Linked DNA regions of Homo sapiens: regions 2, 3, 4, 5, 6 and 7 are each linked to region 1. Evidence: promoter capture Hi-C in 16 types of primary human blood cells and fetal thymus (Javierre and others, 2016). All regions are on one chromosome and are shown on one strand. The core of a region is centred on a gene start or on the middle of the fragment in contact, and the rest is flanking DNA. Distances in the headings are between cores, read along the strand shown. Region 1 holds the start of CYLD (CYLD lysine 63 deubiquitinase). Region 2 overlaps HEATR3 (HEAT repeat containing 3). Region 3 has its middle 4.5 kb from the start of ZNF423. Region 4 overlaps TENT4B (terminal nucleotidyltransferase 4B). Region 5 overlaps HEATR3 (HEAT repeat containing 3). Region 6 has its middle 16 kb from the start of CNEP1R1. Region 7 has its middle 20 kb from the start of TENT4B.

What was found. Contacts are between HindIII fragments. The CHiCAGO score rates a contact against its expected background, and 5 or more counts as called.
Region 2: a contact is called between a fragment that was not itself captured here and the fragment with the promoter of CYLD in region 1, in 10 of 17 cell types (monocytes, naive CD8 T cells, naive CD4 T cells and 7 more). The highest score is 9.6, in monocytes.
Region 3: a contact is called between a fragment that was not itself captured here and the fragment with the promoter of CYLD in region 1, in 1 of 17 cell types (monocytes). The highest score is 5.4, in monocytes.
Region 4: a fragment that was not itself captured here is called in contact with the fragment with the promoter of CYLD in region 1 in 10 of 17 cell types (total CD4 T cells, naive CD8 T cells, naive CD4 T cells and 7 more); the score reaches 8.0 in total CD4 T cells.
Region 5: a contact is called between a fragment that was not itself captured here and the fragment with the promoter of CYLD in region 1, in 4 of 17 cell types (monocytes, M0 macrophages, naive B cells and 1 more). The highest score is 6.6, in monocytes.
Region 6: a contact is called between a fragment that was not itself captured here and the fragment with the promoter of CYLD in region 1, in 2 of 17 cell types (neutrophils and total CD8 T cells). The highest score is 9.1, in neutrophils.
Region 7: a contact is called between a fragment that was not itself captured here and the fragment with the promoter of CYLD in region 1, in 1 of 17 cell types (neutrophils). The highest score is 5.9, in neutrophils.

Annotation. Positions count from the first base shown.
Region 1 is chr16:50,739,938-50,743,848 of GRCh38, reverse strand. CYLD (CYLD lysine 63 deubiquitinase) reads right to left here and starts at 1,763. Exons shown (of 19, transcript NM_001378743.1): 1 at 1,725-1,763; 2 at 1,008-1,087. It overlaps CYLD-AS1 (CYLD antisense RNA 1), which reads left to right and starts at 1,102. Exons shown (of 7, transcript NR_184279.1): 1 at 1,102-1,178; 2 at 2,445-2,521; 3 at 3,055-3,169. It overlaps MIR3181 (microRNA 3181), which reads right to left and starts at 1,544; the gene lies at 1,472-1,544. RefSeq lists an enhancer at 1,009-1,108 and a silencer at 1,349-1,948. The HindIII fragment of the contact is 2,791 bases long and covers 1-2,233 here.
Region 2 is chr16:50,083,451-50,087,115 of GRCh38, reverse strand. HEATR3 (HEAT repeat containing 3) reads right to left here. Exons shown (of 15, transcript NM_182922.4): 8 at 3,089-3,179; 9 at 2,825-2,982; 10 at 2,465-2,547; 11 at 765-901. Among named protein-coding and RNA genes, the nearest start is that of HEATR3-AS1, 19 kb to the right of the region's middle. The HindIII fragment of the contact is 2,772 bases long and covers 982-3,665 here.
Region 3 is chr16:49,858,801-49,862,436 of GRCh38, reverse strand. It overlaps a transcript of ZNF423 not described here. Among named protein-coding and RNA genes, the nearest start is that of ZNF423, 4.5 kb to the right of the region's middle. The HindIII fragment of the contact is 2,471 bases long and covers 513-2,983 here.
Region 4 is chr16:50,178,719-50,182,291 of GRCh38, reverse strand. The region is part of intron 1 of TENT4B (terminal nucleotidyltransferase 4B); the gene reads right to left. Among named protein-coding and RNA genes, the nearest start is that of TENT4B, 27 kb to the right of the region's middle. The HindIII fragment of the contact is 5,075 bases long and covers 1-3,573 here.
Region 5 is chr16:50,105,778-50,109,594 of GRCh38, reverse strand. It overlaps HEATR3 (HEAT repeat containing 3), which reads right to left. Exons shown (of 15, transcript NM_182922.4): 15 at 2,323-3,817. Among named protein-coding and RNA genes, the nearest start is that of HEATR3-AS1, 41 kb to the right of the region's middle. The HindIII fragment of the contact is 2,053 bases long and covers 1,397-3,449 here.
Region 6 is chr16:50,039,646-50,043,340 of GRCh38, reverse strand. No RefSeq gene overlaps it. Among named protein-coding and RNA genes, the nearest start is that of CNEP1R1, 16 kb to the right of the region's middle. RefSeq lists a silencer at 3,097-3,297. The HindIII fragment of the contact is 9,784 bases long and covers 1-3,695 here.
Region 7 is chr16:50,131,346-50,135,302 of GRCh38, reverse strand. No RefSeq gene overlaps it. Among named protein-coding and RNA genes, the nearest start is that of TENT4B, 20 kb to the left of the region's middle. The HindIII fragment of the contact is 5,770 bases long and covers 1-3,957 here.

The DNA of each region.
Region 1 (3,911 bases), core at 514-3,013:
AAACCACTTCATTGTTATACATATAAGAAGAAACAAATACGGAAAATTTCACAATTACGAAACCAAGTTGTTTTGAGGTTTATTTGATACTAGCTTCCTACAGCCTCAACTAGCATGTATGATGCTTATAAATTCTGTACAACCAATGAAAAAAAAACTAATTTAAATCATAGTGTGAAAATCAGGAACAAAATACTAATAGTTTGATAAACAACATAACTATTCCTTTCTCTCTCCCTGTGTTGGAGACTTCCTTAAATCAAACAAAACCACAGTTTAGGTGTGCCAGACTATAAAAATCATTGCTGCTTAATGTTAGTTGTGCTTTATATAACAAGCCTTATCTGCTTCTCACAAAAGTTACCACCCAGAGGAAGGTTTATTTGCAAGAATACTATACAATTTTGCAGCAGAATATTAGAGAATGTTCTGGGTGTTACTTCAATAAGAATTTCCAGCAAATCATTTTCTCCTAATACTGTTCTAGTTCAAATCCACCTACTGCTCAGTGGGGAATGGGAGGCTAAATTCTTAAGGCCATTCAGTCTACTTGGGGCGTGAGGGGGTGTGTAGAAAGCCAACAATCAAACGAACACCCTCTCAAGGCCTGGGTGCTTCTCTGAGAGCCAATGATTGCAAAATGAACAATCTTATTAAGATCCCTAATTAGCCCGAATTCAAAAGCAAGGTAGGCATGCTCCTTAGCTGAGCTAAGGATAAAACTTTCCAGGAAAAATTGAGGAGAAGAAGGTGGCAGGGATGATGGGGGCTGGGAGACTGCAAGGCCACAGGCTTGGTGGCTGGAAGATGACAACTATCCTAAAACATTCAAATGCCAAGGGGTGGAAGAGAAACGATGCCAAGTACATGAATAACCGGCAGCTGACCCAGCTGAGTACCAAACTCAACACCATCTCCTGAAGATTTCATGACTTCGCCCCCGCCCCCCATTCGCCCCCCACCCCCCTCGATTGTTAACATGAAAGAAAAACATAAAGAAAGAATACCTGTCACAGCAGGGCGCACCTTTCAACTAAGGAACTCCGGGTGGCTGTGTAGAACCATCCTCACCCTAGAAAGGGGGAAACTGAAAGAAAAAGCAGAACACGCCATTAACAAGGCCAGAACCCCGACTGCCATTCCTGGACGGGAGCCACCAACACCCGCAAAATCGATCGGTACGTACGCCCCGCGGCGCGGTCGGTAGGAATCACAGCCCCGGGCTCCTGAGGCCAACCGTGGCCGTCGGGGCCCGCCAGCGGCCTGTGCCTCAGTCTCCCAATCTGTAAATGGGGTGGGGGGCGGGAGGGGGACAGCGTCCCGCGCGGCTCCCGCCCCAAGTCCTCTCTCCTCTGGGGGTCCCGATGGTGGCGACCCCGCACGCTCCCCGGACTCGCAGCCCTCCCGGGAAGCCTCGGGGGATGGGGAAGCCCCGGTGGGGGGGGGAAACCCGGGCTGACGTCAGCGGGCTCGGCAACCCGCGGGCCCGGCCGGCTCGGGCCCGGGCAACTAACGGGCCGGCGCCGAGGGCCCGATGGTCGCCGCGGCGGCTCCGGACGCCCTGAGGCCAGGCGGCTGCGCCGAGGGGATCCGGCCGCCCGCCGGCCGCCAGCCGCCCGCTCATTCACTAACCTCGGGCGGCGGGGCGTCGCCCCTCGCCCCGGCTCCCCAGCCCGCGTCCCGGGCCGGCCCCGGCTCCCCACACCCACCGCCCTAGTATTTACCTCCGACGCGCGGCCCCCGCGCAGCCAAACCTGCTACCTGGGCCCGCCCCCACCTGCCCCGCCTCCGAACCGCACAGGGAAGAGGGAGGGAGCGGGGGCGGAGGGGGCAGCCGCCGCGCTAGCCAATCGTAGGCCGAGCTGCGCTCCTGAGCGGGCCGTGATTGGGCCTCCCTGTGACAGACCTTCCTCCAATGGCTGCCAGCCCGGCGCCGGCCGAAGGGACTTTCCGCTCTGTCAAGCTCGGTGGAACCAAAGGGAAAGCGAAGGGGCGGGGCAGAGAAGAGCGGCGGATGGAGGCGGGAAGCTCAAGCTGATTGGGCGAAAGGCTGTGGGTGCCGCGTCACCATTGGCTGATGCTGGAGCCGGGGCGGGGCGCTGCGCTGCCACCAGCTCCGCCTCCCGTGCTCCCGCCTCAGCTGTCAAAACTGTAGACGCTTAGGTTTGGGCTGGGTTAAGAGTCCAGATGAAGGTTGAAATAGGATTCCAGGATGCCGTGAGAGAGCAAAGCTTTAGAATCAGACCTCAGTTTGAATCTTTGGCGCTTTCATTCAGTGGCTGCGTGACCTGAGGAAGTCACAACCACGCTGAGCCTCAATGTCCTCATCTGTAAAATGGAGATCATAGTATCGGTTGTCTTACAGGATTGTGGCAAAATACCGAGCTAAAGTTCCTGGCACGCAGTACCAGCTCAGGAAAGGTTCATCTCTTCCTCCTCCGCAGATTCAGCCTGGGACGCTTGCTGTTTCCGAACCTCTGTTGCCACCTATCCCAGTTTGGAGGGAATTTTCCCAAGGATGGTGAAGAAGGGATTTCCACACGCCGCCTCACTCAGCCCCGCACCCCTGGCCACCAGCCAGGACTTAGGGTGTAGTTAAGGATCTTTCAATTAGAAGGGAGGCTTCTGATTCCCAAAAGCACTCAAAATATTTAAGGAAGTGCTTTTTATAATCAGTCCTAGAGCCTTGCTGCACTGGATACTCCTGTTAATTAATTTCTTCTCCTTTGACATTTTAAGTGCTAATTATAGGAGAAGGTGATTAACACTGAGAAAGGAGGAGGGGTGTGTGTGTGTGTGTGTGTGTGTGTGTGTGTGTTTTTAATCATGACACAAATTTCCCCCAGTGGAAAGTGACATGTTTCTGGAGATCCAGGGAATTTAAACCAATGAATACATAAAAACAGTCACATGAGTGATGACTAACAGTAGCAGTAGACAGGCCACCACTCTTCCTTGCCATAGTCATCCAAAATGAAATGAGCATCTTTTGAAAACCTAAGCCTCATTCTACTCCTGTCCCTCTTTTGTCACTCCTATCTTCCTGTTTTCCAGGCTTCATGACCACACTGCTGTAGGAAGCCATAAGTTGGAAATCAACGGGCCTGGCTTGAAGTGTGGCCTTAGGCAACACCGTTCTCATCTACATCTGGATTCTCCAACAAAGCTGGTAGGACTCAGAGGTCACAGTCCAACTGTCTGGAAGAAAATTTCAGCTGAAATTTGTTTTTGCCTAACCCATACGATAAGGAGGAAGGAGAAAAGAATGTGAAGGAGAGAGATTTGGGGTCCTTTTAGGCAAGGCAAACATTCTCATGTTACCACTGGGACCACTTCTCTTATCTGCACGATCTACATCCACTGGTCCCTTAAGGCATCTGAGTTTGCCACTCTGGACTAGAATATTTTCATGTCCCTTCTTTTTGTTTTTGTTGTTGTTGTTGCTGGGGTGTTTGTTTGTTTGTTTCTTTGTTTTGAGACAGAGTCTTGCTCTGTTGCCTAGGCTGGAGTGCAATGGTGCGATCTCAGCTCACTGCAACCTCCGCCTCCCAGGTTCAAGCAATTCTCCTGCCTCAGCCTCCCAAGTAGCTGGGATTACAGGTGCCTGCCACCACACCCAGCTAATTTTTGTATTTTTAGTAGAGACAAGGTTTCACCATATTGACCAGGCTGGTCTCAAACTCCTGACCTCAAGTGATCTGCCTGCGTCAGCCTCCCAAAGTGCTGGGATTACAGGCATGAGCCAATGTGCCCGGCCTATTTTTGTGTCCTTTCTGTTGATGGTGTTTGGTGCTGCTGAGGTCTCTACTTCCATAGGGCTTTCGTCCCCAGGCTCTGTCCTGTCATACGTTCACTGAATCAGTGCCGGGGCCTGACTTCATCTAAGGGATCTTCATCCAAGTCAAGCCTGA
Region 2 (3,665 bases), core at 1,118-3,617, 660 kb after region 1:
ACTGGTGCAACAGTAACTTGACTCTGGGAGAGGAACTGGGTGTCGGAGAAAGGAGGGAGGCTTTCCAGTTTCTGTCCTCTAATAACTTTTGAATTCTGTACTACATACATATATTAATCAAACTTAAATGCTTGTAACTGGGAAGAAAATAATAGAATAGTACTCAATTATTATTATTATTATTTTGAGATGGAGTTTTGCTCTTGTTGCCCAGGCTGGAGTGCAATGGCACAACCTCAGATCACTGCAATCCCCACCTCCTGGGTTCAAGCGATTCTCCTGCCTCAGCCTCCCGAGTAGCTGGGATTACAGGCATCTCCACCACCACGCCCAGTTAAAGTTTTGTATTTTAGTAGAGCGGTTTCATCATGTTGGCCAGGCTGGTCTCCAACTCCTGACCTGAGGTGATCCTCCCGCCTCGGCCTCCCAAAGTGCTGGGACTACAGGCATGAGCCACCGTGCTTGGCTGAGAATTATCCAAATACCTTAATGAGGCCTTTATGATATTTATGATACAGCCTTGACTGGCCTGATATAACTGGATGCAAACAATTTTAACAAAAAAGAAAATTATAAGCCCAGGAGCTGCTTGCATACCTCGTTTTGACTCTGTACCCCATGGCAACTATAAATACATGATTCCTGTGTCTGGGAAAGGTTTCTGCACATTGGATGACAAACAATATACATTTACAAAATCCAAATTCCTGCCCCTTCAAAATTCTGTTCCGTCTGCGTAGTCTTTCGCAATAAAGTCTAAATACCTGGTTGAGAAAAAAGCAGCTGTGACAGATGCTGTGCAAGCGTCTGAAGGGCTGCGGCTCCTCCCAGGTGCTCCACATCCAGGAGGGACACAAGACTCTGGAGACAGAAGAGGGCTCTGCACTGAATAGTGTTCATTCTGGAAAGGAAGTGAAACAATGCCATCTGATTCTCCAGAAGTTGCCCATCAGAATTCAGTATTAACTTTTAGCCTAAGCTTCACGTTCTGACTGGAAATATCTGTAAATACAAGGTATCTATGGCAGTTAGCAAAGAATCACAAGGTGAACTGTTTTTTGTGTTTTCTAAAATTTATCATCATTTTTTAGACAGGGTCTTACTCTGTTGCCCAGGCTGGAGTGCAGTGGTGTGATCACAGCTCGCTGTAGCCTCAACCTCCTGAGCACAAGTGATCCTCCTGCCTCAGCCTCCTAAGGAGCAGGATTACATGTGCATGCAACCACACCTGGCTAAGTTTTTTATTTTTTGTAGATAGGGGTCTTGCTATGTTGCCCAGGCTGCTCTGGAACTCTTGGCCTCAAACAATCCTCCTGCCTGTACCTTCCAAAGTGCTAGAATTATAAGGTGAACTGTTAATCTGCCAAATCAAACTGCTTGAATATTCACGGCCTCTGATACACAACTCATTCATGAGTCATGAGGAATATGTTTTAGAAAAATTTCTATGTAGGGTAGCATCCTTAAAATTATAATTTTCTTCAGACAGGGTCTCATTCTGTTTCCCAGGCTGGAGTACAGTGTCACCATCATAGCTCACTACAGCCTTAGACTGCTGAGCTCAAGCAATCCTCCCACTTCAGCCTCCTAAGTAGCTAGGACTACAGCTGAGTGCCACTATGCCAGGCTAATTTTTGTATTTTTTTTTCCTTTGTAGAGATGGGGTCTTGCTATGCTGCCCAGGCTGGTTTCAAACTCCTGGCCTCAAGTGATCCTCCTACCTTGGCCTCCCAGAGTCCTGGGATTATAGGTGTGAGCCACCATGCCCAGCCTAAAATTATTTTTAATTGTGAAATGTGACATATATACAGTTAAGTACACAACATACATAGAGAGTTTAACAAACAGTCTATGAAACCAAAACCCATGCACCTGGGAAAGAAATTAACACTGCTGGACCCTGAAAGCCCCTGTATCTCTTCCATATAATATCCCACCTCCCTGACACCTACAGGTAAGCACCATACAGACTTCTATGGTAAACATTTCCTTGCCTCTTTTTTTTTTTAATAGGTTTATCACCAAGGTATGCATCCCTGAACAAAATAGTTCAATGTTGCCTGTTTCTCAACTTTGTAAAAACTGAATCACAGTGTGTGTATTCTTTTATGTCTCGCTTTTTTGGTTCAACAATGTAAGTTCCATCCGAGTTGTGAGTAGCTCTAATTCAGATCCCTTTTACTGCTGCATGTATTGTACTGCGTGATTTTGTCAAAATTTATTTACCATTCTAACTCTGATGGACAACACGTTTGTTTATGGGTTGGGGCAACTGTGACACACACTGCTATGAACACTCTCATATACATGTATTCTAGGGCATGTGGGCACATATTTTTCTGGTATATATACCCAGGAACAAAACTTCTGGGTCCTAGGGGGAGTCAGCACCTTCTATTTAATAGCCCATCATTTCATAAAATAAAATAATGACAAATGTTTTTGAAAGCAGAAGAGTTCTTACTTTCTAATCAAAGGTTTCCAAGTAGGGTTCCTAGAACATAGGTCAACTGCAATGCTGTTTGGAAAGGCAGTTTTCTCAAAAATCTAGATTTAAAAGAGGCAGTAAAGCAAAGGTTAAAGAGTAGTCATTTAACACGATTCCCTTACATAATTCCAACATATTACTCCTAAGTGAAATGGTTAGGCTTCATATAGAATGACCTTTTCGCCTATTTCCAGTACTGTTAGGCTCAGCTTTGTCTCAGATCTTACCACCATCTACAACCTGGAAGTGTGAGCTTGCTTCTTTTGTACACAAAATGAATACCTTGCTTAAGCCTTTCCCATGCTCCACGGTAAGCCTAGAATGAAAATGGATTACCTTCTTTGGGATGAGGTAGTTGGTGAGAGCCGTGTGAACTTCATGGGAGAGGCAGAGGGGAGAAAACAGCTGTCCCCCGCACTCACTGAAGGAATTCTCCATAAATGCGTCACTTTCATCACTGCTAGAAAGCTCTTCCCATTCGTCATCAGAGGGATCTGGGAAGCGGGCAAACCACGCAGAACTGGAATAGTTAAGAAAATCTCCACGGGAGTTTCCCTCTTGGCTCAGGGGGAAAATGTCTAAATGTAAATGTTAACAAACCTTCATTGCAGCACATGTTGACAATAATTTCCAGAGCAGTCTGTTGGGCTGTCAGCAATGCTATAGTCTCTCTCAGTTCCTTGTCAGTGGGCTTAAAAAAAAAAAAAAAAGTAAATGACCAACTCTCAATGGTTGGGAAAATGTTTTTGGGGAATTTCCTTAGTGAAAGCCTACTAGAAGATTTTTGCGCTTGGAATAGAGCACACGGGGAATGGGGTAGGTAAAAGAAAAGTCATGAAGTGCCAGAAGTACAAACGAGCATTATAATTCCTCTTGGTACAGTGGAGCATGCCCCCGTTAACTGGGTTTCCATCTATCTGCATGGCTATTCCCCAAGCGTCACTTAGTTAGCTGGAGAGAACAGACAAATATTCAGGAATTCTGAACAGAATTCACCCTGAAACTTATCTACTGTGTCAAGAAGTAGCTGGGCATACTAAGATTTAAACAAGAGTTCATTTCAGACACCAGGCACTTAGAAACACCAAACCTGCTTTTAGATGCTTAGCTTAGATGTCTTTCTTGGAATGGCTGCGCTAACACACACTACTAACGAGCCCTTATGTGACCTGTAGAA
Region 3 (3,636 bases), core at 499-2,998, 880 kb after region 1:
CTCAGGAGCTTCAAGACCAAGTCTTGTGAGAAGAACCCTGCAAATAATGATGAAGAGGTGAGGAAGACCTGGGCTTGTGGCAGCTGCTGGTTAACAATCATGCTGCTAGGCCATCTCCTGGAAGGCTTGACCAGAGAGCATGGTCATTGCTTCCTCAGTACCCTGAGAACAGGAGTGTTCAGGGAAACTTGGATTCTACAGATAGATGCATCATTAAAATAAAACACAACTAGCCTGGCCAATATGATGAAACCTCATTTCTACTAAAAATACAAAAGAATTAGCTGGGCATGGTGGCGCATGCCTGTAATCTCAGCTAGTTGGGAGACTGAAGCAGGTAAATTGTTTGAATCTGGGAGGCGGAGGTTGCAGTGAGCCGAGATCGTGCCACTGCACTCCAGCCTGGGCGATACAACAAGACTCTGTCTCAAAAAATAAATAAACAAATAAATAAAATAATAAAACGCAAATGCACAAAACCTTCTCAATAGACATAAAGAAGATAGAAAGCTTCTAGAAAGCAAGGGCAAGTCTGAATCAAGGAAATACCAGGGAGAAAGAGGAACTTATTGGTGCAAGGAGGGGATCTGCAGTTGTGTAACTGGCATCTCTATGAACATGATTGACCTCGGAGGTGGTGAAGGTGAGAGAGAAAAGGTAAGGGAGGACAGCGAAGGCCAGATGACTGCTGTCTTGTGGCCAGACAGGCAGCATGGACAGATGAGAAACCCTCAGGACCACCCTATGAGATCCGTGCTATCCGTTTTCTCATTTTGCAGATGCAAAACTGGAACACGGGCTCCCTTGCTCCGGGTTCTTCAGCTAGGTGGTGAGGGAAGCTGGACTGGAAAATGGATGGAATTGGCTCCTAAGCCTGGCCATGGTGGCCTTTGCCTGAGCTGTGACAACTCTCGCTGAGAAGCCTCCAGCTCCTTTGTGCCCCAGGCCCTTTGCACACACTGTTCACAGCTGGGAACTCTATTCTCCATCCCCCCGCTTGGCTCCTTCCTCCTCCTCCATAGGGCTCTCAGCAGACCACCTTTGAGACTCTGTTTTGTGGCCTCTTTGTACTATATTTTAATTTCTTCTCAGGATTGATCAAAACTATAAGTAAATAATTATTTTTGTGGCTATTTATTTATTTATTTGAGACAGAGTCTCACTCTGTTGCCCAGGCTGGAGTGCAGTGGCGTGATCCTGGCTCACTGCAACCTCTGCCTCCTGGGCTCAAGCAATTCTCATGCCTCAGTCTCCTGAGTAGCTGGGATTACAGACACCCACCACCACGCCCAGCTAATTTTTGTATTTTTAGTAGAGACTTTCACCATGTTGGCCAGGCTGGTCTCGAACTCCAGACCTCAAGTGATCCACCCATCTCAGCCTCCCAAAGTGCTGAGATTACAGATGTGTGCCACCGCGACTGGCCTTGCGTGGCCATTTATTAAGTCAGCCACCCCCCTTACCCCCTACAACTAGAGGGCAAGCCCCAACAGGGAGGAACTGCGATCTTTCTCATTCATTGTTTTACCCTCAGTCTTGGCACACAGTAAGTGCAAAATCATAAATAAATGTTGAATAAACACAGGAACAAAGCAGTGAACTTATTCTCTGGGGAAAAGCTGAAGGGATAAATCATCCCTCCCCAAAATGACTGCTCCTCATAGGCTGATGCAAATTCTCCACAGTAGGGACTGGGAGTTTCAAGTAATAAAGCAGTAAACAAAAACCACTCATTCCAGATCGTATATATTCAAGTGACTGTTGTCATTTAAAGTAAGTGATGTGTGTGTGCCTGGAAGGGGAAAAGGTGGGCATTTGTTTTTTCTTTTTCTTTTCTTTTTTTTTTTTTTTGAGATGGAGTCTTACTTTGTCACCCAGGCTGGAGTGCAGTGGCATGATCTCAGCTCACTGCAACCTCGGCCTCCCAGGTTCAAGTGATTGTCATGCCTCAGTCTCTCGAGTAGCTGGGACTACAGGTATATGCCACCAAGGCACGTGCCACCATGCCCAGATAATTTTTGTATTTTTAGTAGAGACAGGGTTTCAACATGTTGCTGGGGCTGGTCTCGAACTCATGACCTCAGATGATCCACCCATCTCAGCCTCCCAAAGTGCTGGGATGACAGGCATAAGCCAGGGCCTCCCTAGCAGGTGATCCATCCGTTTCATCTTCCCAAAGCGCTGGGATTACAGGTGTGAGCCACGGCACCTGGCCAAGGTGGGCATTTGGTCACTTACTGGAAAGCATCCCTTGAGCAACTCTGGGAGCTCTGCAGGGATCATAGGTCTGAGGCCACAAAGTGAACACTGCCTTGTTTTCTTTATTGTCCTATCTTGTTTTTGTAGCCCACCAGACCCTCGTGCATTCACCAGACTGCTCAAAATGACGCCTGCCTCTTGAAAATTCAAGGAAGAAGCCTCAGTTGCTGCACATGTAGGAAAAACATTCTTAAGGAGCATGGTTGGGGAAGGCACCGCCTTGGGCAAGAGGTTTCCCCTCTTCCAGCCAAGTTATGACTTTGAAGGAAGATGCACCTTTTTGTGGGCAAAGTCTTACTTGTTCTCAAAAACCTCAACTTGGAATTTCTCTTGCATTTATGATGGTGGCTCCTGCTCCTTACAGCTTACAGTGGGTTTCCACAGCCACTCCTCCAAGCAGGGCAGGAGCAGCTGTTCACTTTCCGGCGAAGAAGGAGAGCCCAGAGGGGCCCCTTCTCATAGGGGAGGGGACTGGACCCCCTATTCCCTGCCAGAAGTAGGCAGGTGGGGGGTATAAAACACACCTGAAAATGACCCTTTCTGGTCCAAGGTCACCCGTGAGAAGCAAGGCCCAGGTGTCACCTGGTGTCCCTTGAGGCCCTTGCAGTCCGAGCTCAGAGGTGGGTGGGGATTGCAAATAAGGAAGGCACTATTGGCTTTTTGTTCCTTTGAGATTTTCCTTAAAACAACATTTTTCTGGAAGGAGTTAAAAATGAAACAAGCTTCAGAAGAAGCGGGACGGGCCGAGGCGGGGACAAGGTCGGGCTCCCTCTGCACCCTGACTGCCGCTGAGCTGGGAGACGCCGAACTTGGCGGGGGAGGGCGGAGCGTCGGGAAACGGACATACGTGCAGGCGACGCGTGGGAGGGGGCCCGGAAAACTTTGTGAGCGGCTCCAGGATCTCGTCCTTTCGGATTAGGTCAGGATGGGCTATTGCGGGCTCCCCATCCTGTTGCCCCCACCTCCGTCCTCAGTCTTCAGCAGGCCCCTAGGGGTGGAAAAGGGCAGCCCCGTGGGACTCCAACCACCCCTCTCCCCCGACGGCCCCTCTTTCGTCCCGCACACGCATTCCCCACCGCGCTCCTTTTGTCCGCCCCCTCACTCTCCAGACTCCCGGCTGGGCAGGATCCGCAATCTCCAGCCCCCCAGAAAGCCTGGGCGGGCGAGCTGGGGGCCGTTCCCCGCCCCCTACCTCTAGCAGAGGCAGCCCGCGGCGGGGGCACCCCAGAGCCGAGGCCAATCGTCCCCCTCCCCCAGCGTGTGCCATCTGCCGCCTGTCAGCCACTCTCCGCGGGCCTCGATCCCAGGCGCCGGCGGGGGTGGGGGAGCGGCTGATTCTGCCCCTCCTTCCTGGCTCCTTCCCAGGCGCCTCGCGGC
Region 4 (3,573 bases), core at 861-3,360, 560 kb after region 1:
TTTTCTCTTGATGATTCTTTTTCTCCTTTTTTTATGGCAGGGTTTCACTCTGTTGCCCGGGCTGTAGTGTAGTCTTGGCTCACTGCAACCTCTGCCTCCCAGGCTCAAGCGATCCTCCCGCCTCAGCCTACTGAGTAGCTGGGACCACATGCACGTACCACTGCATCCAGCAAATTTTTGTATTTTTGGTAGAGACAGGGTTTCACCATGTTGCCTAGGCTGGTCTTGAACTCCTGAGCTCAAGCAATCTGCCCACCTCGGCCTCCTACTAAAGGGCTGAGATTACAGGCATGAGCCACCATGCCTGGCATCTCTTGATGATTCTTGATGTTTTGACACAATTATTCTGGTTACTATCACCTGGTATTTACATCACTAACCTAATCTAGCATTTTTAATAAAATGTTTCCAGGTCAGTGACTAGCACACAAGCACTGAGCATAATTCTCCTGAGTACCCACCTCATCTCCATCACCTCTGCAGCAGTTTGGCTGAAAGACAATTTAGCAGGACCAATAAAACACTTAAAATGTCCACTCTCTGTCCCAGAAGACACAGCACATGTACATAAAGAGGCATGTGCAAAAACAATCACTACAGCCCTGCAAATGAAAACACTGGAAACAACCTCTGTGTTCATCAGTAGGAATGTGGCTTTTAAAAACTATGGTTTTTAAATAAAGTGAAGGCTGGGCATGGTGGCTCACACCTATAATCTCAGCACTCTGGAAGGCCGAGGCAGGTGAGTTGCTTGAGCTCAGGAGTTCAAGACCAGCCTGGACAACATGGTGAAACTCTGTCTCTATAAAAAAAAAAAAAAAAAAAAATACAATAGCTGGATATGATGTTGTGTGCCTATAGTCCCAGGTACTCCAAGAGGCTGAGCCAGAGGTTGCAGTGAGCCAAGATCACACCACTGCACCCCAGCCTAGGCAACCCTATCTCAGGGGAAAAAAAAAAAAAAGTTCAAATCCATGATTGCAGGTGGCTTGAATCAGACTGATAAAGGGCATTTCAAGGCACACTGTCTCCACATTTAAATCCACAAACACACCTCCTTTGTGACTCTCCAACAATATAAATATTCTGTCTTGCTTAAAAACAAATCCAGTTAAAAACAAAGAAAAACCCAACACTTTTGTACAAGACCAATTTTTTAAAACTTACACATAATTTCACAATTTAATATTTTTACTTTTAATCCAAAAAGCAATTGTGTTACAAGGCCTGAGCCAAACTTCACTTCATTACAATAATGTCTGTGGCCCACATAACTATTTTGTAGTTGTTTAATTCACTTGTTATGGTTCTAATCAATACAGAAAAATCAGTGAGGAAGAAAACTATTCTATTTTAAGGAAGCAAAACTATTCTATTTTAATAGTTTGGAAGTTTGAGGACTTCCAACAGTTCATCTCACTCTTGGACTACTAATCTCCTCTACAGCAATGGGGTCCCTTAGACCCCACTGCCCCTTCTTGAGGGATTTTGACAATTGGCCAGGTTTGGGAACCTATAGTTTAATAGCGCCTTTGGGCAGCAGTTTTCAACCTTTACTGCATACGATTTTTTTTTTTTTTTTTGAGATGGAGTCTCGCTCTGTCACCCAGGCTGGAGTGCAGGGGCACGATCTTGCCTCACTGCAACCTCCACCTCCTAAGTTAAAGCGATTCTCATGCCTCAACTTCCAGAGTAGCTGGGACCACAGGCACATGCCATCATACCCGGCTAATTTTTTTGTATTTTTAGTAGAAACAGGGTTTCGCCATGTTGGCCAGGGTGGCCTTGAACTCCTGGCCTCAAGTGATCTGCCCACCTCGGCCTCCCAAAGTGTGAGATTACAGGCATGAACCACCGCAACTGGCCTATTATTTCAAAAAATATGTGAAGGCTGGGCACAGTGGCTCATGCCTGTAATCCCAGCACTCTGGGAGGCTGAGGCAGGCAGATCACAAGGTTAGGAGTTCGAGACCAACCTGACCAACCATGGTGAAATCCCGTCTCTAATAAAAATACAAAAATTAGCCAGGCATGGTGGCACACACCTGTAATCTCAGCTACTCAGGAAGCTAAGGCAGAAGAATCACTTGAAACTGGGAGGCAGAGGTTGCAGTAAGCTGAGATCGCACCATTGCACTCCAGCCTGGGCAAAAGAGCGAGACGCCATCTCAAAAAAAAAAGAAAAAGAAAAAAAGAAAGTGAAAACTATCACTCCCCTACAAATGTATTTTATCAGAGTACCTGAGAAGTGGGTTCTAGTCACTAATTTTTTTTTTAACTTCCTCAGATTGAGAACCGCACTTAGAAGGAGCTGCTTTAGGAGTTATCACTATCAAGCCCACTGAGCCCATCATCATTATCTGCATGGTCCACAGGAAACCCAACGGTATGGCAGAAGACAAGGTGAAGCACCAAGCCCTGGTTTTATTTGATTTAACAGACTTGGGCTGACAGGACCAGATTCTAGAGGCACACTAGGACACATTACAGACTAGGGCTAAGAAACCCTGGATTCAGGTAAAGATAAAGTCACTATACTAACAGCAGAACTTGGTAATGTCACTTAACTTCTCTGAGGCTCAAGTTATTAATTTTTTAAAAAAGGATTGGAGTAAATCACCTCTGAAGATCCTTTGATCTCAAACACCTTGATGATTTCTAACCATGTTGTAACAAATCGGTCAAATGAATAAGCAGAGTGGTCCTTACAGTAATGCATGAATATCTTCTGCAAATATCAGATTAACCTCATATATACAATTTTGGGCTTATTTACATAAAAATCCTACTCCTCACCACACCATAAGAAATCTTAACTGAACATTAGTGTGTTCTATCAAGTCAATTACAAATGAAAATTAAACTGGTCACATAAGCCCCAAAGTAAATATAAACATTTGGGATAAAGTAAAAAAAAAAAATTTTCTTTTGAGACGGAGTTGCGCTTTGTTGCCCAGGCTGGAGTGCAATGGCAAGATCTCGGCTCACTGCAACCTCCACCACCCGGGTTCAAGCGATTCTCCTGCCTCAGCCTCCCAAGTAGCTGGGATTACAGGCATGCGCCACCACACCTGGCTAATTTTGTATTTTTAGTAGAGACGGGGTTTCTCCATGTTGGTCAGGCTGGTCTCAAACTCCTGACCTCAGGTGATCCACCCGCCTCGGTCTCCCAAAGTGCTGGGATTACAGGTGTGAGCCACCGCACCCGGCTGGAATAAAGTAAATTTTTAAAGTAACTCTTTAACCTTTTCACTGTCAACACCATCCTGATGTTTTTTATAATTTTTTTCCATCTGTAAAAATTGTTGTAAAACATATGTAACATAAAATGTACCATTTTAATCATTTTTAGGTGTACAGTTCAGTGGTATTAAGTACATTCACACTGTTGTGCAATCCTCACCACCATCCACCTCCATAACTTTTTAATCTTTTCCAAATGAAACTCTGTACCCATTAAACATGAATTCCTCATTCCCTCCTCCCCACAGGCCCTGGCAAGCATTATTCTAATTACTGAATTACTGTTTCTATGACTCTTATATTCCAGATACCTCATATAAGTGCAATCAT
Region 5 (3,817 bases), core at 1,174-3,673, 630 kb after region 1:
CTCTTTCTAGCTCTTTCTAGACCAGTAGTTCTCAAAGTGTGTTCCACAGATCCTTTTCGGGGGGGGGGGTCATGAGGTCAATACTGTTTTCACAATACTAAATGCGACTTGGCTTTTTTTGCTGTGGTGGCACACTGGGGCTGTGGACACTAAAGTGATGGGATGAAACTGCTGGTGTCTAGTATGAATCAGGGCATGGGCACCAAACTACTAATTATCACTGCATTCTCCCCAATCACGCACTTAGAGGAAAAACAAAGCAAGCTGCACCCAAGACTGTAGTTGATGAATTAGTAAAAAATAAATAATAATTTATCAAACTTTGACTCTTGAGTATGTCTTTTTCCATATAGATACTCGTTATTCTAGCACCATTTACTGAAAAGACTATTGTTTCTCCATCAAGTTAACTTGGCACCTTAGTGGAAAATCAATTGATCATATAATTATGGGTCTATTTCTGGACTCAATTTTGTTCCATTGATCTGTATGTCTTTACTTATGCTAAAACCATATGATTTGATTGCTTTAGCTTTATACACAGTAAGTTTAAAATCAGGTTGCATGACGCATATGCACAGCCAAACACACCCAGGTCAGCTCCCCACCTTTTTTTTTTTGAGACGGAGTCTCGCTCTGTCGCCCAGGCTGGAGTGCAGTGGCACAGTCTCGGCTCACTGCAAGCTCCGCCCCCCAGGCTCATGCCATTCTCCTGCCTCAGCCTCCCAAGTAGCTGGGACTACAGGTGCCTGCCACCACACCTGGCTAATTTTTTTTTTTTTTTTTTTTTTGTATTTTTAGTAGAGACAGGGTTTCACTGTGTTAGTCAGGATGGTCTTGATCTCCTGACCTCATGATCCACCCACCTCGCCCTCCCAAAGTCCTGGGATTACAGGTGTGAGCCTTCACGCCCGGCCAGCTCCCCTTTTTTTTTGAGACAGAGTCTTACCGCCCAGACTGGAGTGCAGTGGCGTGATCTGAGTTCACTGCAACTTCCGCCTCCCATGTTCAAGCGATTGTCCTGCCTCAGCTTCCCAGTAGCTGGGACTACAGGGGCATGCCACCACATCCGGCTAATTTTTGTATTTTTAGTAGAGACAGGGTTTTGCCATGTTGGCCAGGCTGGTCTCGAACTCCTGGGCTCTAGTGATCTGCCCATCTTGGCCTTCTAAAGTGCTGGGATTACAAGTGTGAGCTACTGCGCCCAGCCCCCAACCTTTTTTTTTTTTTTTAAGAAAGGTTTTGCACTGTTGCTTAGGATGGAATCATGATTCACTACAGCCTCCATCTCCTAGGCTCAAGCCATCCTCCTGCCTTAGCCTCCCAAGTAGCTGAAACTACAGGTGTGCGCCACCAAGCTCAGCTAATTTTTTTTATGTTTAGCAGAGACAAAGCTTCCCTATGTTGCCCAGGCTGGTCTCAAACTCCAGAGCTCAAGTGATTCACCCGTCTTGGACTCCCGAAGTGCTGGGATTACAGGTGTGAGCCACTATGCCTGAACAGTGTATATTTCTTTCTTTTTTTTAACAGAGCTCACTCTGTTGCCCAGGCTAAAGTGCACTGGTGCAATCTTGGCTTATTGCAACCTTCACCTCCTGGATCCAAGTGATTCTCATGCCTCAGCCTCCTGAGTAGCTGGGATTACAGGTATGGGCCATCACACCCGGCTAATTATTTTTTTTTTGAGGTGGAGTCTTGCTCTGTTGCCCAGGCTGGAGTGCAGTGGTGGAATCTTGGCTCACTGCAACCTCCACCTCCCAGGTTTGAGTTTCTCCTGCCTCAGCCTCCCAAGTAGCTGGGATTGCAGGTGCATGCTACCACACCCAGCTAGTTTTTGTATTTTTGTAGAGATGGGATTTCACTATGTTGGCCAGGCTGGTCTCAAATTCCTCACCTTAAGTGATCTGCCCACCTCGACCTCCCAAAATGCTTGGCCTCCAGTGTGTATTTCTAACGGGCTATTCTGGGTGATTTTCAAATAAGTATATTTTAAAGCAGACTTTTTTTCCCCTATGGTCATACAGAAAAAGCTCTCCATTATCCTGTGCCATGAATAATACTTGCATGCTCTATTGAGTTATTATGTAAATAGTTAAAACTGTATGCTGTATTTATGAGTTGTTTTCCCTTCTTTTGTGTCGTTAGAGTGGTAAAGTTGAATGGGAGAAATCCAGACCCAATTATCCATGCCTCAGAATCTAAGAGATTTTTAGGATGGCACATCTTCAGTGTCATCTCATCTTCTACCGTGTTTAAGGATGATTCTGCATTCAACAGCTGCTTTAGAGCTTGCTTAGTAAAACAGAAAATCACACACAAAACAACGAGAAAATCACCAGCATTTATTTACTCAACAAATATTTATGAAGAGTCGACTATATACTAGGTCCTGTGCTAAATATCCTGGATATTGTTTATAGGTCAGAAACTGTGGGGAAGAATAAACAGAATGAGGAACTTTTTTCTCCTTGAAAATAATTATATTTTATAAATAATTGAGGCAGAGAGAACTCTAATACTTTCTTTTTTGGAAGAGTCGTTCTCCAAGGAGACATGCTTGGGCCAATCATTTAGCTGAAATGATCACTAAACATACATATATACCTTAAAATTCATGAGCAAGGACCATAATAAAGCGAGGTGTTGTATATGGTATACATTTCTGTTTTCCCACCATATACACAATTTGGGTTATTTTACTTGGTGCCATGGGCTAGGAACTCTTAGGGCTGGGAAACAATCTTGGTTTCCCAACAGTCTATATCATATAGGTGAAAACTGTAAAATACATCACAGTGCAGATGAAATCTAACACTACTAGCTCATTTTGTGCTGCTGTGGAAGCAGTGAATTAAAATTAAGTCCTGTACTGGGGATTGGGCCTTTTGTCAGGGCAACTGAGATCAACTGTACAGAAATTTTCAAATTTCCCTTCTCATCAGGCAAACGGATGGACAATGAAGCCGGTTCAGAGGCCCAGCCGAGACAATGATGCACAGGGAAACTCCCTCGAGCCCCAGCTGTCACCTAGTACTTCGAAGACACTGAGAGGTAATGCTGCAAAGTCGTGCTGTCATTTTTTTAATGTCTCACATATATTCCAAGCAATATGCATTAGCAAACAAATATCCACGAATAGTATCATCTCATTTTCTACTAATAACCCTTTATTTGGTATCTTAAAAAAGATTTTGTAAGACACAAAACTTTCCATTAAAAAGTTGTTTATTTAAAAATACCTTCTCCCAATTCTGATTCCATATCAAATTAAATCAAGAAGTGATGTTACAGCAATAACTCATCAAAGTCATGAGTAGGGAGGATGGCAATGACCCCATTAGCTCATTAGTATAATCTAGTAAGTGAAATAGAAATTCAACTCATTTACTTCTTCACAAAAGGCAAACATAATTGATATACTTCATATCAAAAAACTAGTTTATAAAGCTTGTCTTCATATTTCAGTTTAAGGTTCAACTGATATAAAATGCCTTAAAAGAACATCCAAGCAATGCTTTGGATTTTCTTTCTTTGCAAAATTCAAGGAAAACATGATTGGTTGAAGTTTCTTCACTGCTGGCGAATTAGTTAAGAGCTACCTGAGATTCCTTCGCACTTCCACTCTTCCACTCTTTGAGTTTCCAGTGATTAAAATATGCCAGAGACATAATTTAGAGAGCGCTAGAAATGCCACACAGATCTCATCACTTAAAAAAGAGTTTCTGGCCAGGCACGGTGGCTCATGCCTGTAATCCCAGCACTTTGGGAGGCCAGGGCAGGCGGATCACTTGAGGTCAGGAATTTGAGACCAGCCTGG
Region 6 (3,695 bases), core at 321-2,820, 700 kb after region 1:
ATTTGCTGGCCTGATAGGTAAGGACTTAGCTCTCCAAAACTCTCTCCCACATTTCTCCTTTGCCCCACAAAATTGTACCGGAATTCTCTATTAAATCACTCTAAATTTCTAGGACAATGCAAATTTTGCTCACTGCTGAACTAAGAAGCCCACTAAACCACAATTCCTTTCTTTGTTCTTGGAATTAGTAATCGCCTTTTTTTTCTTATCCTGGTTTTCCATCAATTTGTCATTATTTTTCCCCTAATGTCCAACATCTTTGTCTATCGCTGCATACATTTAAACATACCCATTCCACTTTCTTCCTCATGGTCTCCTTCCTAACCCCATGCTGTCATCGGGACTGGGTGCTCTCTAAGGATGCGTTGTGCCTTGCATGCTGGAGTCCCATTTCCCATGTGGCTGTTAGCACGTGAAGAGATGGTAGTGATGTTCACCATGATAATGCTGCTGGTTTATTGTGGAAGATCTCAGCAGAAGTCACTGTACGTCATTTTGTTATCTCTCTCCTTTTTTTAAAAAAAATGTCTGTACCCATCCATCCACTAACTGTATGTCATTTATTGAAAGTGTATTCCATATGCATAAATTGAGTTCACATATGTAATCAGATAGAATTCAGAAACAGGGATTTCAGAAACCTAGGTCCTAGGTTGTGCAATTGCTACTATTCAAGTATCCTTTTCTGGATCTCAATTCAAATAACCCAACTCTAAAGGATACATTTATGGGACAGTTGGAGGAGTTTAAGCAGAATATTTGGTATAAAATTGCTACAAAATTATTAGCGTTTCAGGTATGATATAGTATTGTAGTTATATGTAAAATTTTTCTTAACTTTTGGAGATAGTTACTGGAAGATTTCTATATCAAGTGATGTCTGTGATTTGCTTCAAAATAATCCTTTGTGGGGGTGAGGGAGCAAGTTGAAATAGGGTAGGCTGAGCATCTCAAAACTGAAAATCGAAAATCTGAAAAGCTCCAAAATTCAAAACGTTTTTGTTTTGAGACAGAGTCCACTCTGTCGCCCAGGCTGGAGTGCAGTGGCACAATCTCAGCTCACTGCAACCTCTGCCTCCCAGGTTCAAGTGATTCTCCTTCCTCAGCCTCCCAAGTAGCTGGGATTACAGGCACCTGCCACCACGCCTGGCTAATTTTTGTATTTTTAGTAGAGACGGGGTTTTGCCATGTTGGCCAGGCTGGTCTTGAACTCCTGACTTCAGGTGATCCGCTTGCCTCGGCCTCCCAAAGTGCTGGGATTACAGCCATGAGCCACCATGCCTGGCCCAAAATGTTTTGAGTGCTAACCGGACACTTAAAGGAAATGCTTGTTTTGCAGCACTCAGATTAGAGAGTTTTGGAGTTGGAATGCTCAACCTGTAAACATAAAGCAAATATTCCAAAATGTGAAATCTGAAACACTTCTTGTCCTAAGCATTTTGGATAAAGGATTCTGAACCTGTATAAGAAACAAGATTGGCTATATGTTGATAATTGCTCAAGTTGGGTGATGGGAGTTCATTATACCACTCTCTCTATGTTTGCATGTGTTTAAAACATTCCAGAACAATTTGTTTTTAAATGGTTTTCAGGGTAGGTCAGGAAAAAAAATAAATCTGATAATTGTAGGAGACAGAATTTAAAACTCATCTTCTAGCAAGGATATATTTCTTTTTTAATTTACTTAATGAACTTACAATAGACTTAGTTATTTTAGTTTCTCTACCGTTACTTAAATTACAAATCTGAGGCCAAAGTGGGACGATCACTTGAGCTCAGGAGTTCAAGACCAGCTTAGGCAACAAAGTGAGACCCTGTCGCTACAAAAAATTAAAAAGTTAGCTAGGAATGGTGAGAGCCTGTAATCCCAGCACTTTGGGAGGCTGAGGTGTGAGGATTGCTTGATCCCAGGAGTTGGAGGCTGCAGTGAGCCATGATTGTGCCACTGCACGGCAGCCTGGGTGACAGAGCAAGACCCCAACTGAAAATAAATAAATAAATAAAATTTATGTTTTAGTGTATTTACGTATTTATATAAAAACTCAGTTTCAATACCAAAGTCAAGATTCATCCATTTGTTCAACAGCAATTGAGCATCTTCCATAGATGCCAGCACTCTTGGGTACTCAAGATACACCTATAACAAGTACTCAGAATAGCGACTCAAAAATTAGTTTGTGATTTTAAAAAAAAAGCTGGAAAGCTATCTTTTACATACATTATTTCATTTCATCCTTCTAGCTATTCTGCAAGATAGCTATCTAATAGGCCTAAATGAAATTAAGGTTCAGAGAGAATAAGTCACTTGCCCCACTGGCTAATGGAGGAAATGGGACTGTAATCCACATTGATCTGCCAAGTCTGGGTCCTTCCACTGCACGTGGCCCTGAGCTCTCTTACCTGCCAGATGGCATGAGGCTTGATTGGAAGCACTCTCATCTGTTAGATCAACTCTCCACAGCATGCTCCTGGAACACAACTGCTGTGTACCACTCTAGCAGTCAAGCAAGCAAGAGAAGCTGACTTTGAGTAAACTGAAAGCCAATTATTTAAAGGATATTGGGTACTTCAGGATTTTGGAGTGGTCTAGAGAGACTGGTTCAAGGCTAAAGTTCCAGAAGAAAAAAAATGCCCAAACCCATCTTACGGAACTGGTCGGATGAGGAAACTGATGCCACCACCACTGAGTCCCACTGAGTGCCCTGCCACGGAAACACAGCTTTACCACCTCCTCGCATGCCTGGGTCCCAAATGCAGGAGTCCAAAGTTTTCTGGGTTGTCCTGAGAGAGGATGGACTGACATAGCCAGCATTCCCCAAATCTAGCACGGGTGCTCAGAGGGAGCTGGGCAAGGCAACCACTCTGTGATTCTCTCTGTGGGATGTTCAATACATTTGCATGCCTCTTCTCCAATTAAAAAAGAGCAACTGGACAGACAGAAACCACAACAAACACTCTCTGTCCCCCAAATAATGTGAACAAGTCTTTGGTGAAATGGCAGAAAAGCAGGCAGTTTAACAGGTTTCTCTACTGCAGGGCCACTCGGGACATTCATGCATGCATTCATTCATTCGTTTGAGGCAGAGTGTCACGCTGTCGCTCAGGATGGAATGCAGTGGTACAATCATAGCTCACTGCAGCCCCGGCCTCCGGAGCTCAAGCGATCTGCCTGCCTTGGCTTCCCAAGCAGCTGGGATTACAGGCATTAGCCATCGTGCCCAGCCAACATGGAGCTTTTAATATGCTTTACAGCATGAACAATCTCCAGGAGGAGGATGTAGTAGTTCCCAAATATTGGTGATCATGGAACTTTTATTTCTGTAACAGGCTAAATATGATGGAAGAAGTGGTGCTGGTGGTAGGCTTTATGCTCAATTGCTTCTTCTTTTGTCCTCTGCGAAGTCCTATTCATTTGACATTAAAAGTTTTTTTTTTTTCCTTTTTTTTGAGACAGAGTTTTGCTCTTGTTGCCCAGGCTAGAGTCCAATGGCGCGATCTTGGCTCACTGCAACCTCTTCCTCCCAAGTTCAAGCGATTCTCTTGCTTCAGCCTCCTGAGTAGCTGGGATTACAGGTGTTAGCCACCATGCCTGGCTAATTTTTGTATTTTAGTAGAGACGGGGTTTCACCATGTTGGTCAGGCTGGTCTCGAACTCCTGACCTCAGGTGATCCACCTGCCTCGGCCTCCCAGAGTG
Region 7 (3,957 bases), core at 1,049-3,548, 610 kb after region 1:
CAGAATACAGGCACAATGCCCCGTGGGTATCTTTGGATTTTGGAGGCAACATATTCTTCATTTAGGTGTGATATTCGAATCTATTTACTGGGTGACCCAAAAAGCTGCAAGTGTTGAGTGGGACTCAGAAACGGACAAGGCTCTGCAATGGGTCCAGGCTGCTGTGCAAGCTGCTCCGCCCCTTGGGCCATATGATCCAGCAGAGCCAATGGTGCCTGAAGGGTCAGTGGCAGACAGGGGTGCTGTTTGGAGTCTTTAGCAGGTTCCTGTAGGTGGATTATAGCTCAGATCCTTAGAATTTTGCAGCAGAGCCCTGCCATCCTTCAGCTTACTTTCCTTTTGAGACAGCTCTTGGCCTGCTCCTGAGCCTTGGTAAAGACTGAATGCTTGACCAGACGTGGTGGCTCACACCTGTAATCTCAGCACTTTGGGAGGCTGAGGTGGGTGAATCACGAGGTCAGCCTGGCCAACATGGTGAAAGCCCACCTGTACTAAAAATACAAAAATTAGCCGGGCATGGTGGCATGTGCCTGTAATCCCAGCTACTTGGGAGACTGAGGCAGGAGAATCACTTGAACCCTGGAGGCAGAGGTTGCAGTGAGCCAGGATTGCGCCATTACACTCCAGCCTAGGTGACAGAGCAAGACTCCATCTCGGGAAAAAAAAAGACTGAATGCTCAACCATGGCCACCAAGTTACAATGCGACTTGAGCTACCCATCACAAACTGGGGGCTATCTGATCTCCAATGCCATAAATTTGGATGTGCACAGGAGCACTCCACCATCAAATGGAAGTGGTATATACATGATTGAGTTCAAGCAGGCCCTGAAGGCACAAGTAAGTTAATGAAGGACTGGCACAAATACCAACGGTCCCCCGCCCCGCTACACTGCCTTCTGTCTCCCGTTCTGTACCTATGGCCTCTTAGGGAGGTCCCTATAATCAGCTGACAGAGGAAGATAGGACAGGCCTGGTTTCCAGGTGGTTCTGCACAATACGTGTGTGCCATCTGAAAGTGGACAGCACTACAGCTTCTCTCTGAGACATCCCTTAAGGACAGCAGTGAAGGGAAATCTTCCCAGTGGCAAAACTTCAGGCAGCATGCTTTGCTTGGAAGAAGAAATGGTCAGACACGCAATTATATACCAATCCCATGGGCTGTGGACCATGGTTTGGCTGGATGTTCAGGAACTTGGAAGGAATATGATTGGAAAACTGGTAACAAGGAAATTTGGAGAAGAGGTATGTGAATAGACCTCGCAGAATGAGCAAAAATCATAAGATATTTGTCTCCCATGTGAATGCTCACTAAAGGGTGACCTCAGTAGAGCAGGACTTTAAAAATCAAGTGGATAGGATGACCTATTCTGTGGATAGCCATCAGCCTCTTTCTCCAGCCACCCCCTCATCAGCCAGTGGGCTCATGAGCAGAGTGGCCATGGTCAGGGATGGAGGTTAATCATGGGCTTGGGAATATGGACTACCACTTATCAAAGCTGACCTGGCTATGGCCACTGGTGAGTGCCCAATCCATCAGCAGCAGAGACCAAGACTGAGTCCCTGATATTCCCCGGGGGGTAAATCAGCCAGCTCCCCAGTGGCAGGTTGATTACACTGGACTGCTTCTATCATGGAAGGGACAGTGTTTTGTTCTTACTGTAATAGATTCTTTAAAAATTTTTTTTAATTATTATTTTTTATTTTTAGAGATGGGATCTTGCTGTGTTGCCCAGGCTGGAGTGCAGTGGCTATTTGCAGGCATGATTATAGCACACTACAGCTTTGAACTCCTGTTCTCAAGAAATCTTCCCACTTTGCCTCAGCCTCCCAAGTAGCTAGAACTACAGGTGCACACCACTGTGTGGGCTTGTAATAAACTCTTACTCAGCATATTAATTTGCCTTCCCTGCACACAATGCTTCTACCAAAACTACCGTTTGTGGGCTTATAGAATGTCTTATCCATTGTAATGGTATTGGTATTCCACACAACATTGCTTCTCATCAACGAACACACAGCAAAAGGAATGCAGCAATGGGTTCAAGCTCATGGAATTCACTGGTCTTTTCCCACCATTCTGAAGTAGCTGGTTTGATGAAACAGTGAAAGGGTCTTTTGAAGACTTAGTTACAGTACCAGCTAGGAGGGCTAGGGCAAGGTTCACCAGAAGGCTGTATATGCTCTGAATCAGCGTCCAAAAACAGTGCTGTTTGTTTTGTTTTTCTTTTTTCTTTCTTTCTTTTTTTTTTTTTTTTTTTGGAGACAGAGTTTCCCTCTTGTCGCCCAGGCTGGAGTGCAATGGTGTGATCTCGGCTCACTGCAACATCTGCCTCCCGGGTTCAAGCGATTCTCATGACTCAGTCTCCTGAGTAGCTGGAATTACAGGCACCTGCCACCACACCGGCTAATTTTTGTATTTTTTAGTAGAGATGAGGTTTTGCCATGTTGGTCAGGCTGATCTTGAACTCCTGACCTCAGGTGATCCACCCGGCTCGGACTACCAAAGTCCTGGGATTACAGGTGTGAGCCACCGCGCCTGGCCATGGTGCTGTTTCTCTTACAGCAGGAAATCACAGTCAGGAATCAAGGGTGGAAATGGGAGTGGCACCCTTCACCAATTTTTTTTTTTTTTTTTTTTTTAGACAGAGTCTTGCTCTGTTGCTCAGGCTGGAGAGCAGTGGCATGGCCATAGCTCCCTATAGCCTCAAACTCATGGGCTCAAGCAATCCTCCCACCTCAGCCTCTCAAGTAGCTAGGACTACAAGTGCTTGCCACCATGCCCAGCTTGTTTAACAAACAAAGAAAAAAAATGTATATATATATATATATATTAGAAACAGTGTCTCCCTATGCTGTTTGGGCTGGTCTCAAACTCCTGGCCTCAAGCAATCCTCCTGCCTTAGCCTCCCAAAGCACTGGGATTACAGGCATGAGCCACTGTGCCCAGCTGAACCACTATTACTTCTAGTGACCCAGTAGCAAAATTTTTGGTTCCTGTTCTCACAACTTTATGCTCTGCTGGTCTAGAGCTCTTAGTTCCAGAAGAAGGAATGCTTCCATCTGGAGACACAACAATAATTGCATTGAGCTGGAAGTTAAGGCTACTGCCCAGCCACTTTGGGCTCCTTAATACCCTGAATCAACAAAAAAAGAAGGGAATCCTCTAGTGGCTAGATAAATTGATTCTGACTACCAAGGGAAACTTGGACTACTACTCCACAATGGAGGTAAGAAAGAGTATGTCTGCAATTCATGAGATCCTGCAGAGCATCTCTCAGTATGACCACGCCCTCTGATTAAGTGGAACGGAAAAATATACAACAATCCAATCCAGACAGGACTATATATGGCCCAGGTCCTTCAGGAATGAAGGTTTGGATCACAACACCAAATAAAGAACCATGACCACCTGAGGTGTTTGCTGAAGGCAAAAGGAATACAGAATGGGGTAGTGGAGGAAGATAGTTATAAATAAATACACAGCCATGACCACATGACTGGTTACAGAAATGAGGACTGTAATTGTTATATTTCCTCCTTATTTTATTTATTTATTTTTTTTATTATTTATTTATTTATTTATTTATTTATTTATTTTTTGAGATGGAGTCTCCCTCTGTCACCCAGGCTGGAGTGCAGTGGCGTGATCTCGGCTCACTGCAAGCTCCACTTCCTGGGTTAATGCCATTCTCCTGCCTCAGCCTCCTGAGTAGCTGGGACTACAGGTGCCCATCACCACGCCCGGCTAATATTTTTTTTAATATTTTTAGTAGAGACGGGTTTTCACCCGTACCCAGGATGGTCTCAATCTCCTGACCTCGTGATCTGCCCACCTCAGCCTCCCAAAGTGCTGGGATTACAGGTGTGAGCCACCACTCCCGGCCTCCTCCTTATTTTATTATGAACACGTTTGTGTAGCAAATATCTTTGTTTTCTTTCCTCTCATTTTATCATG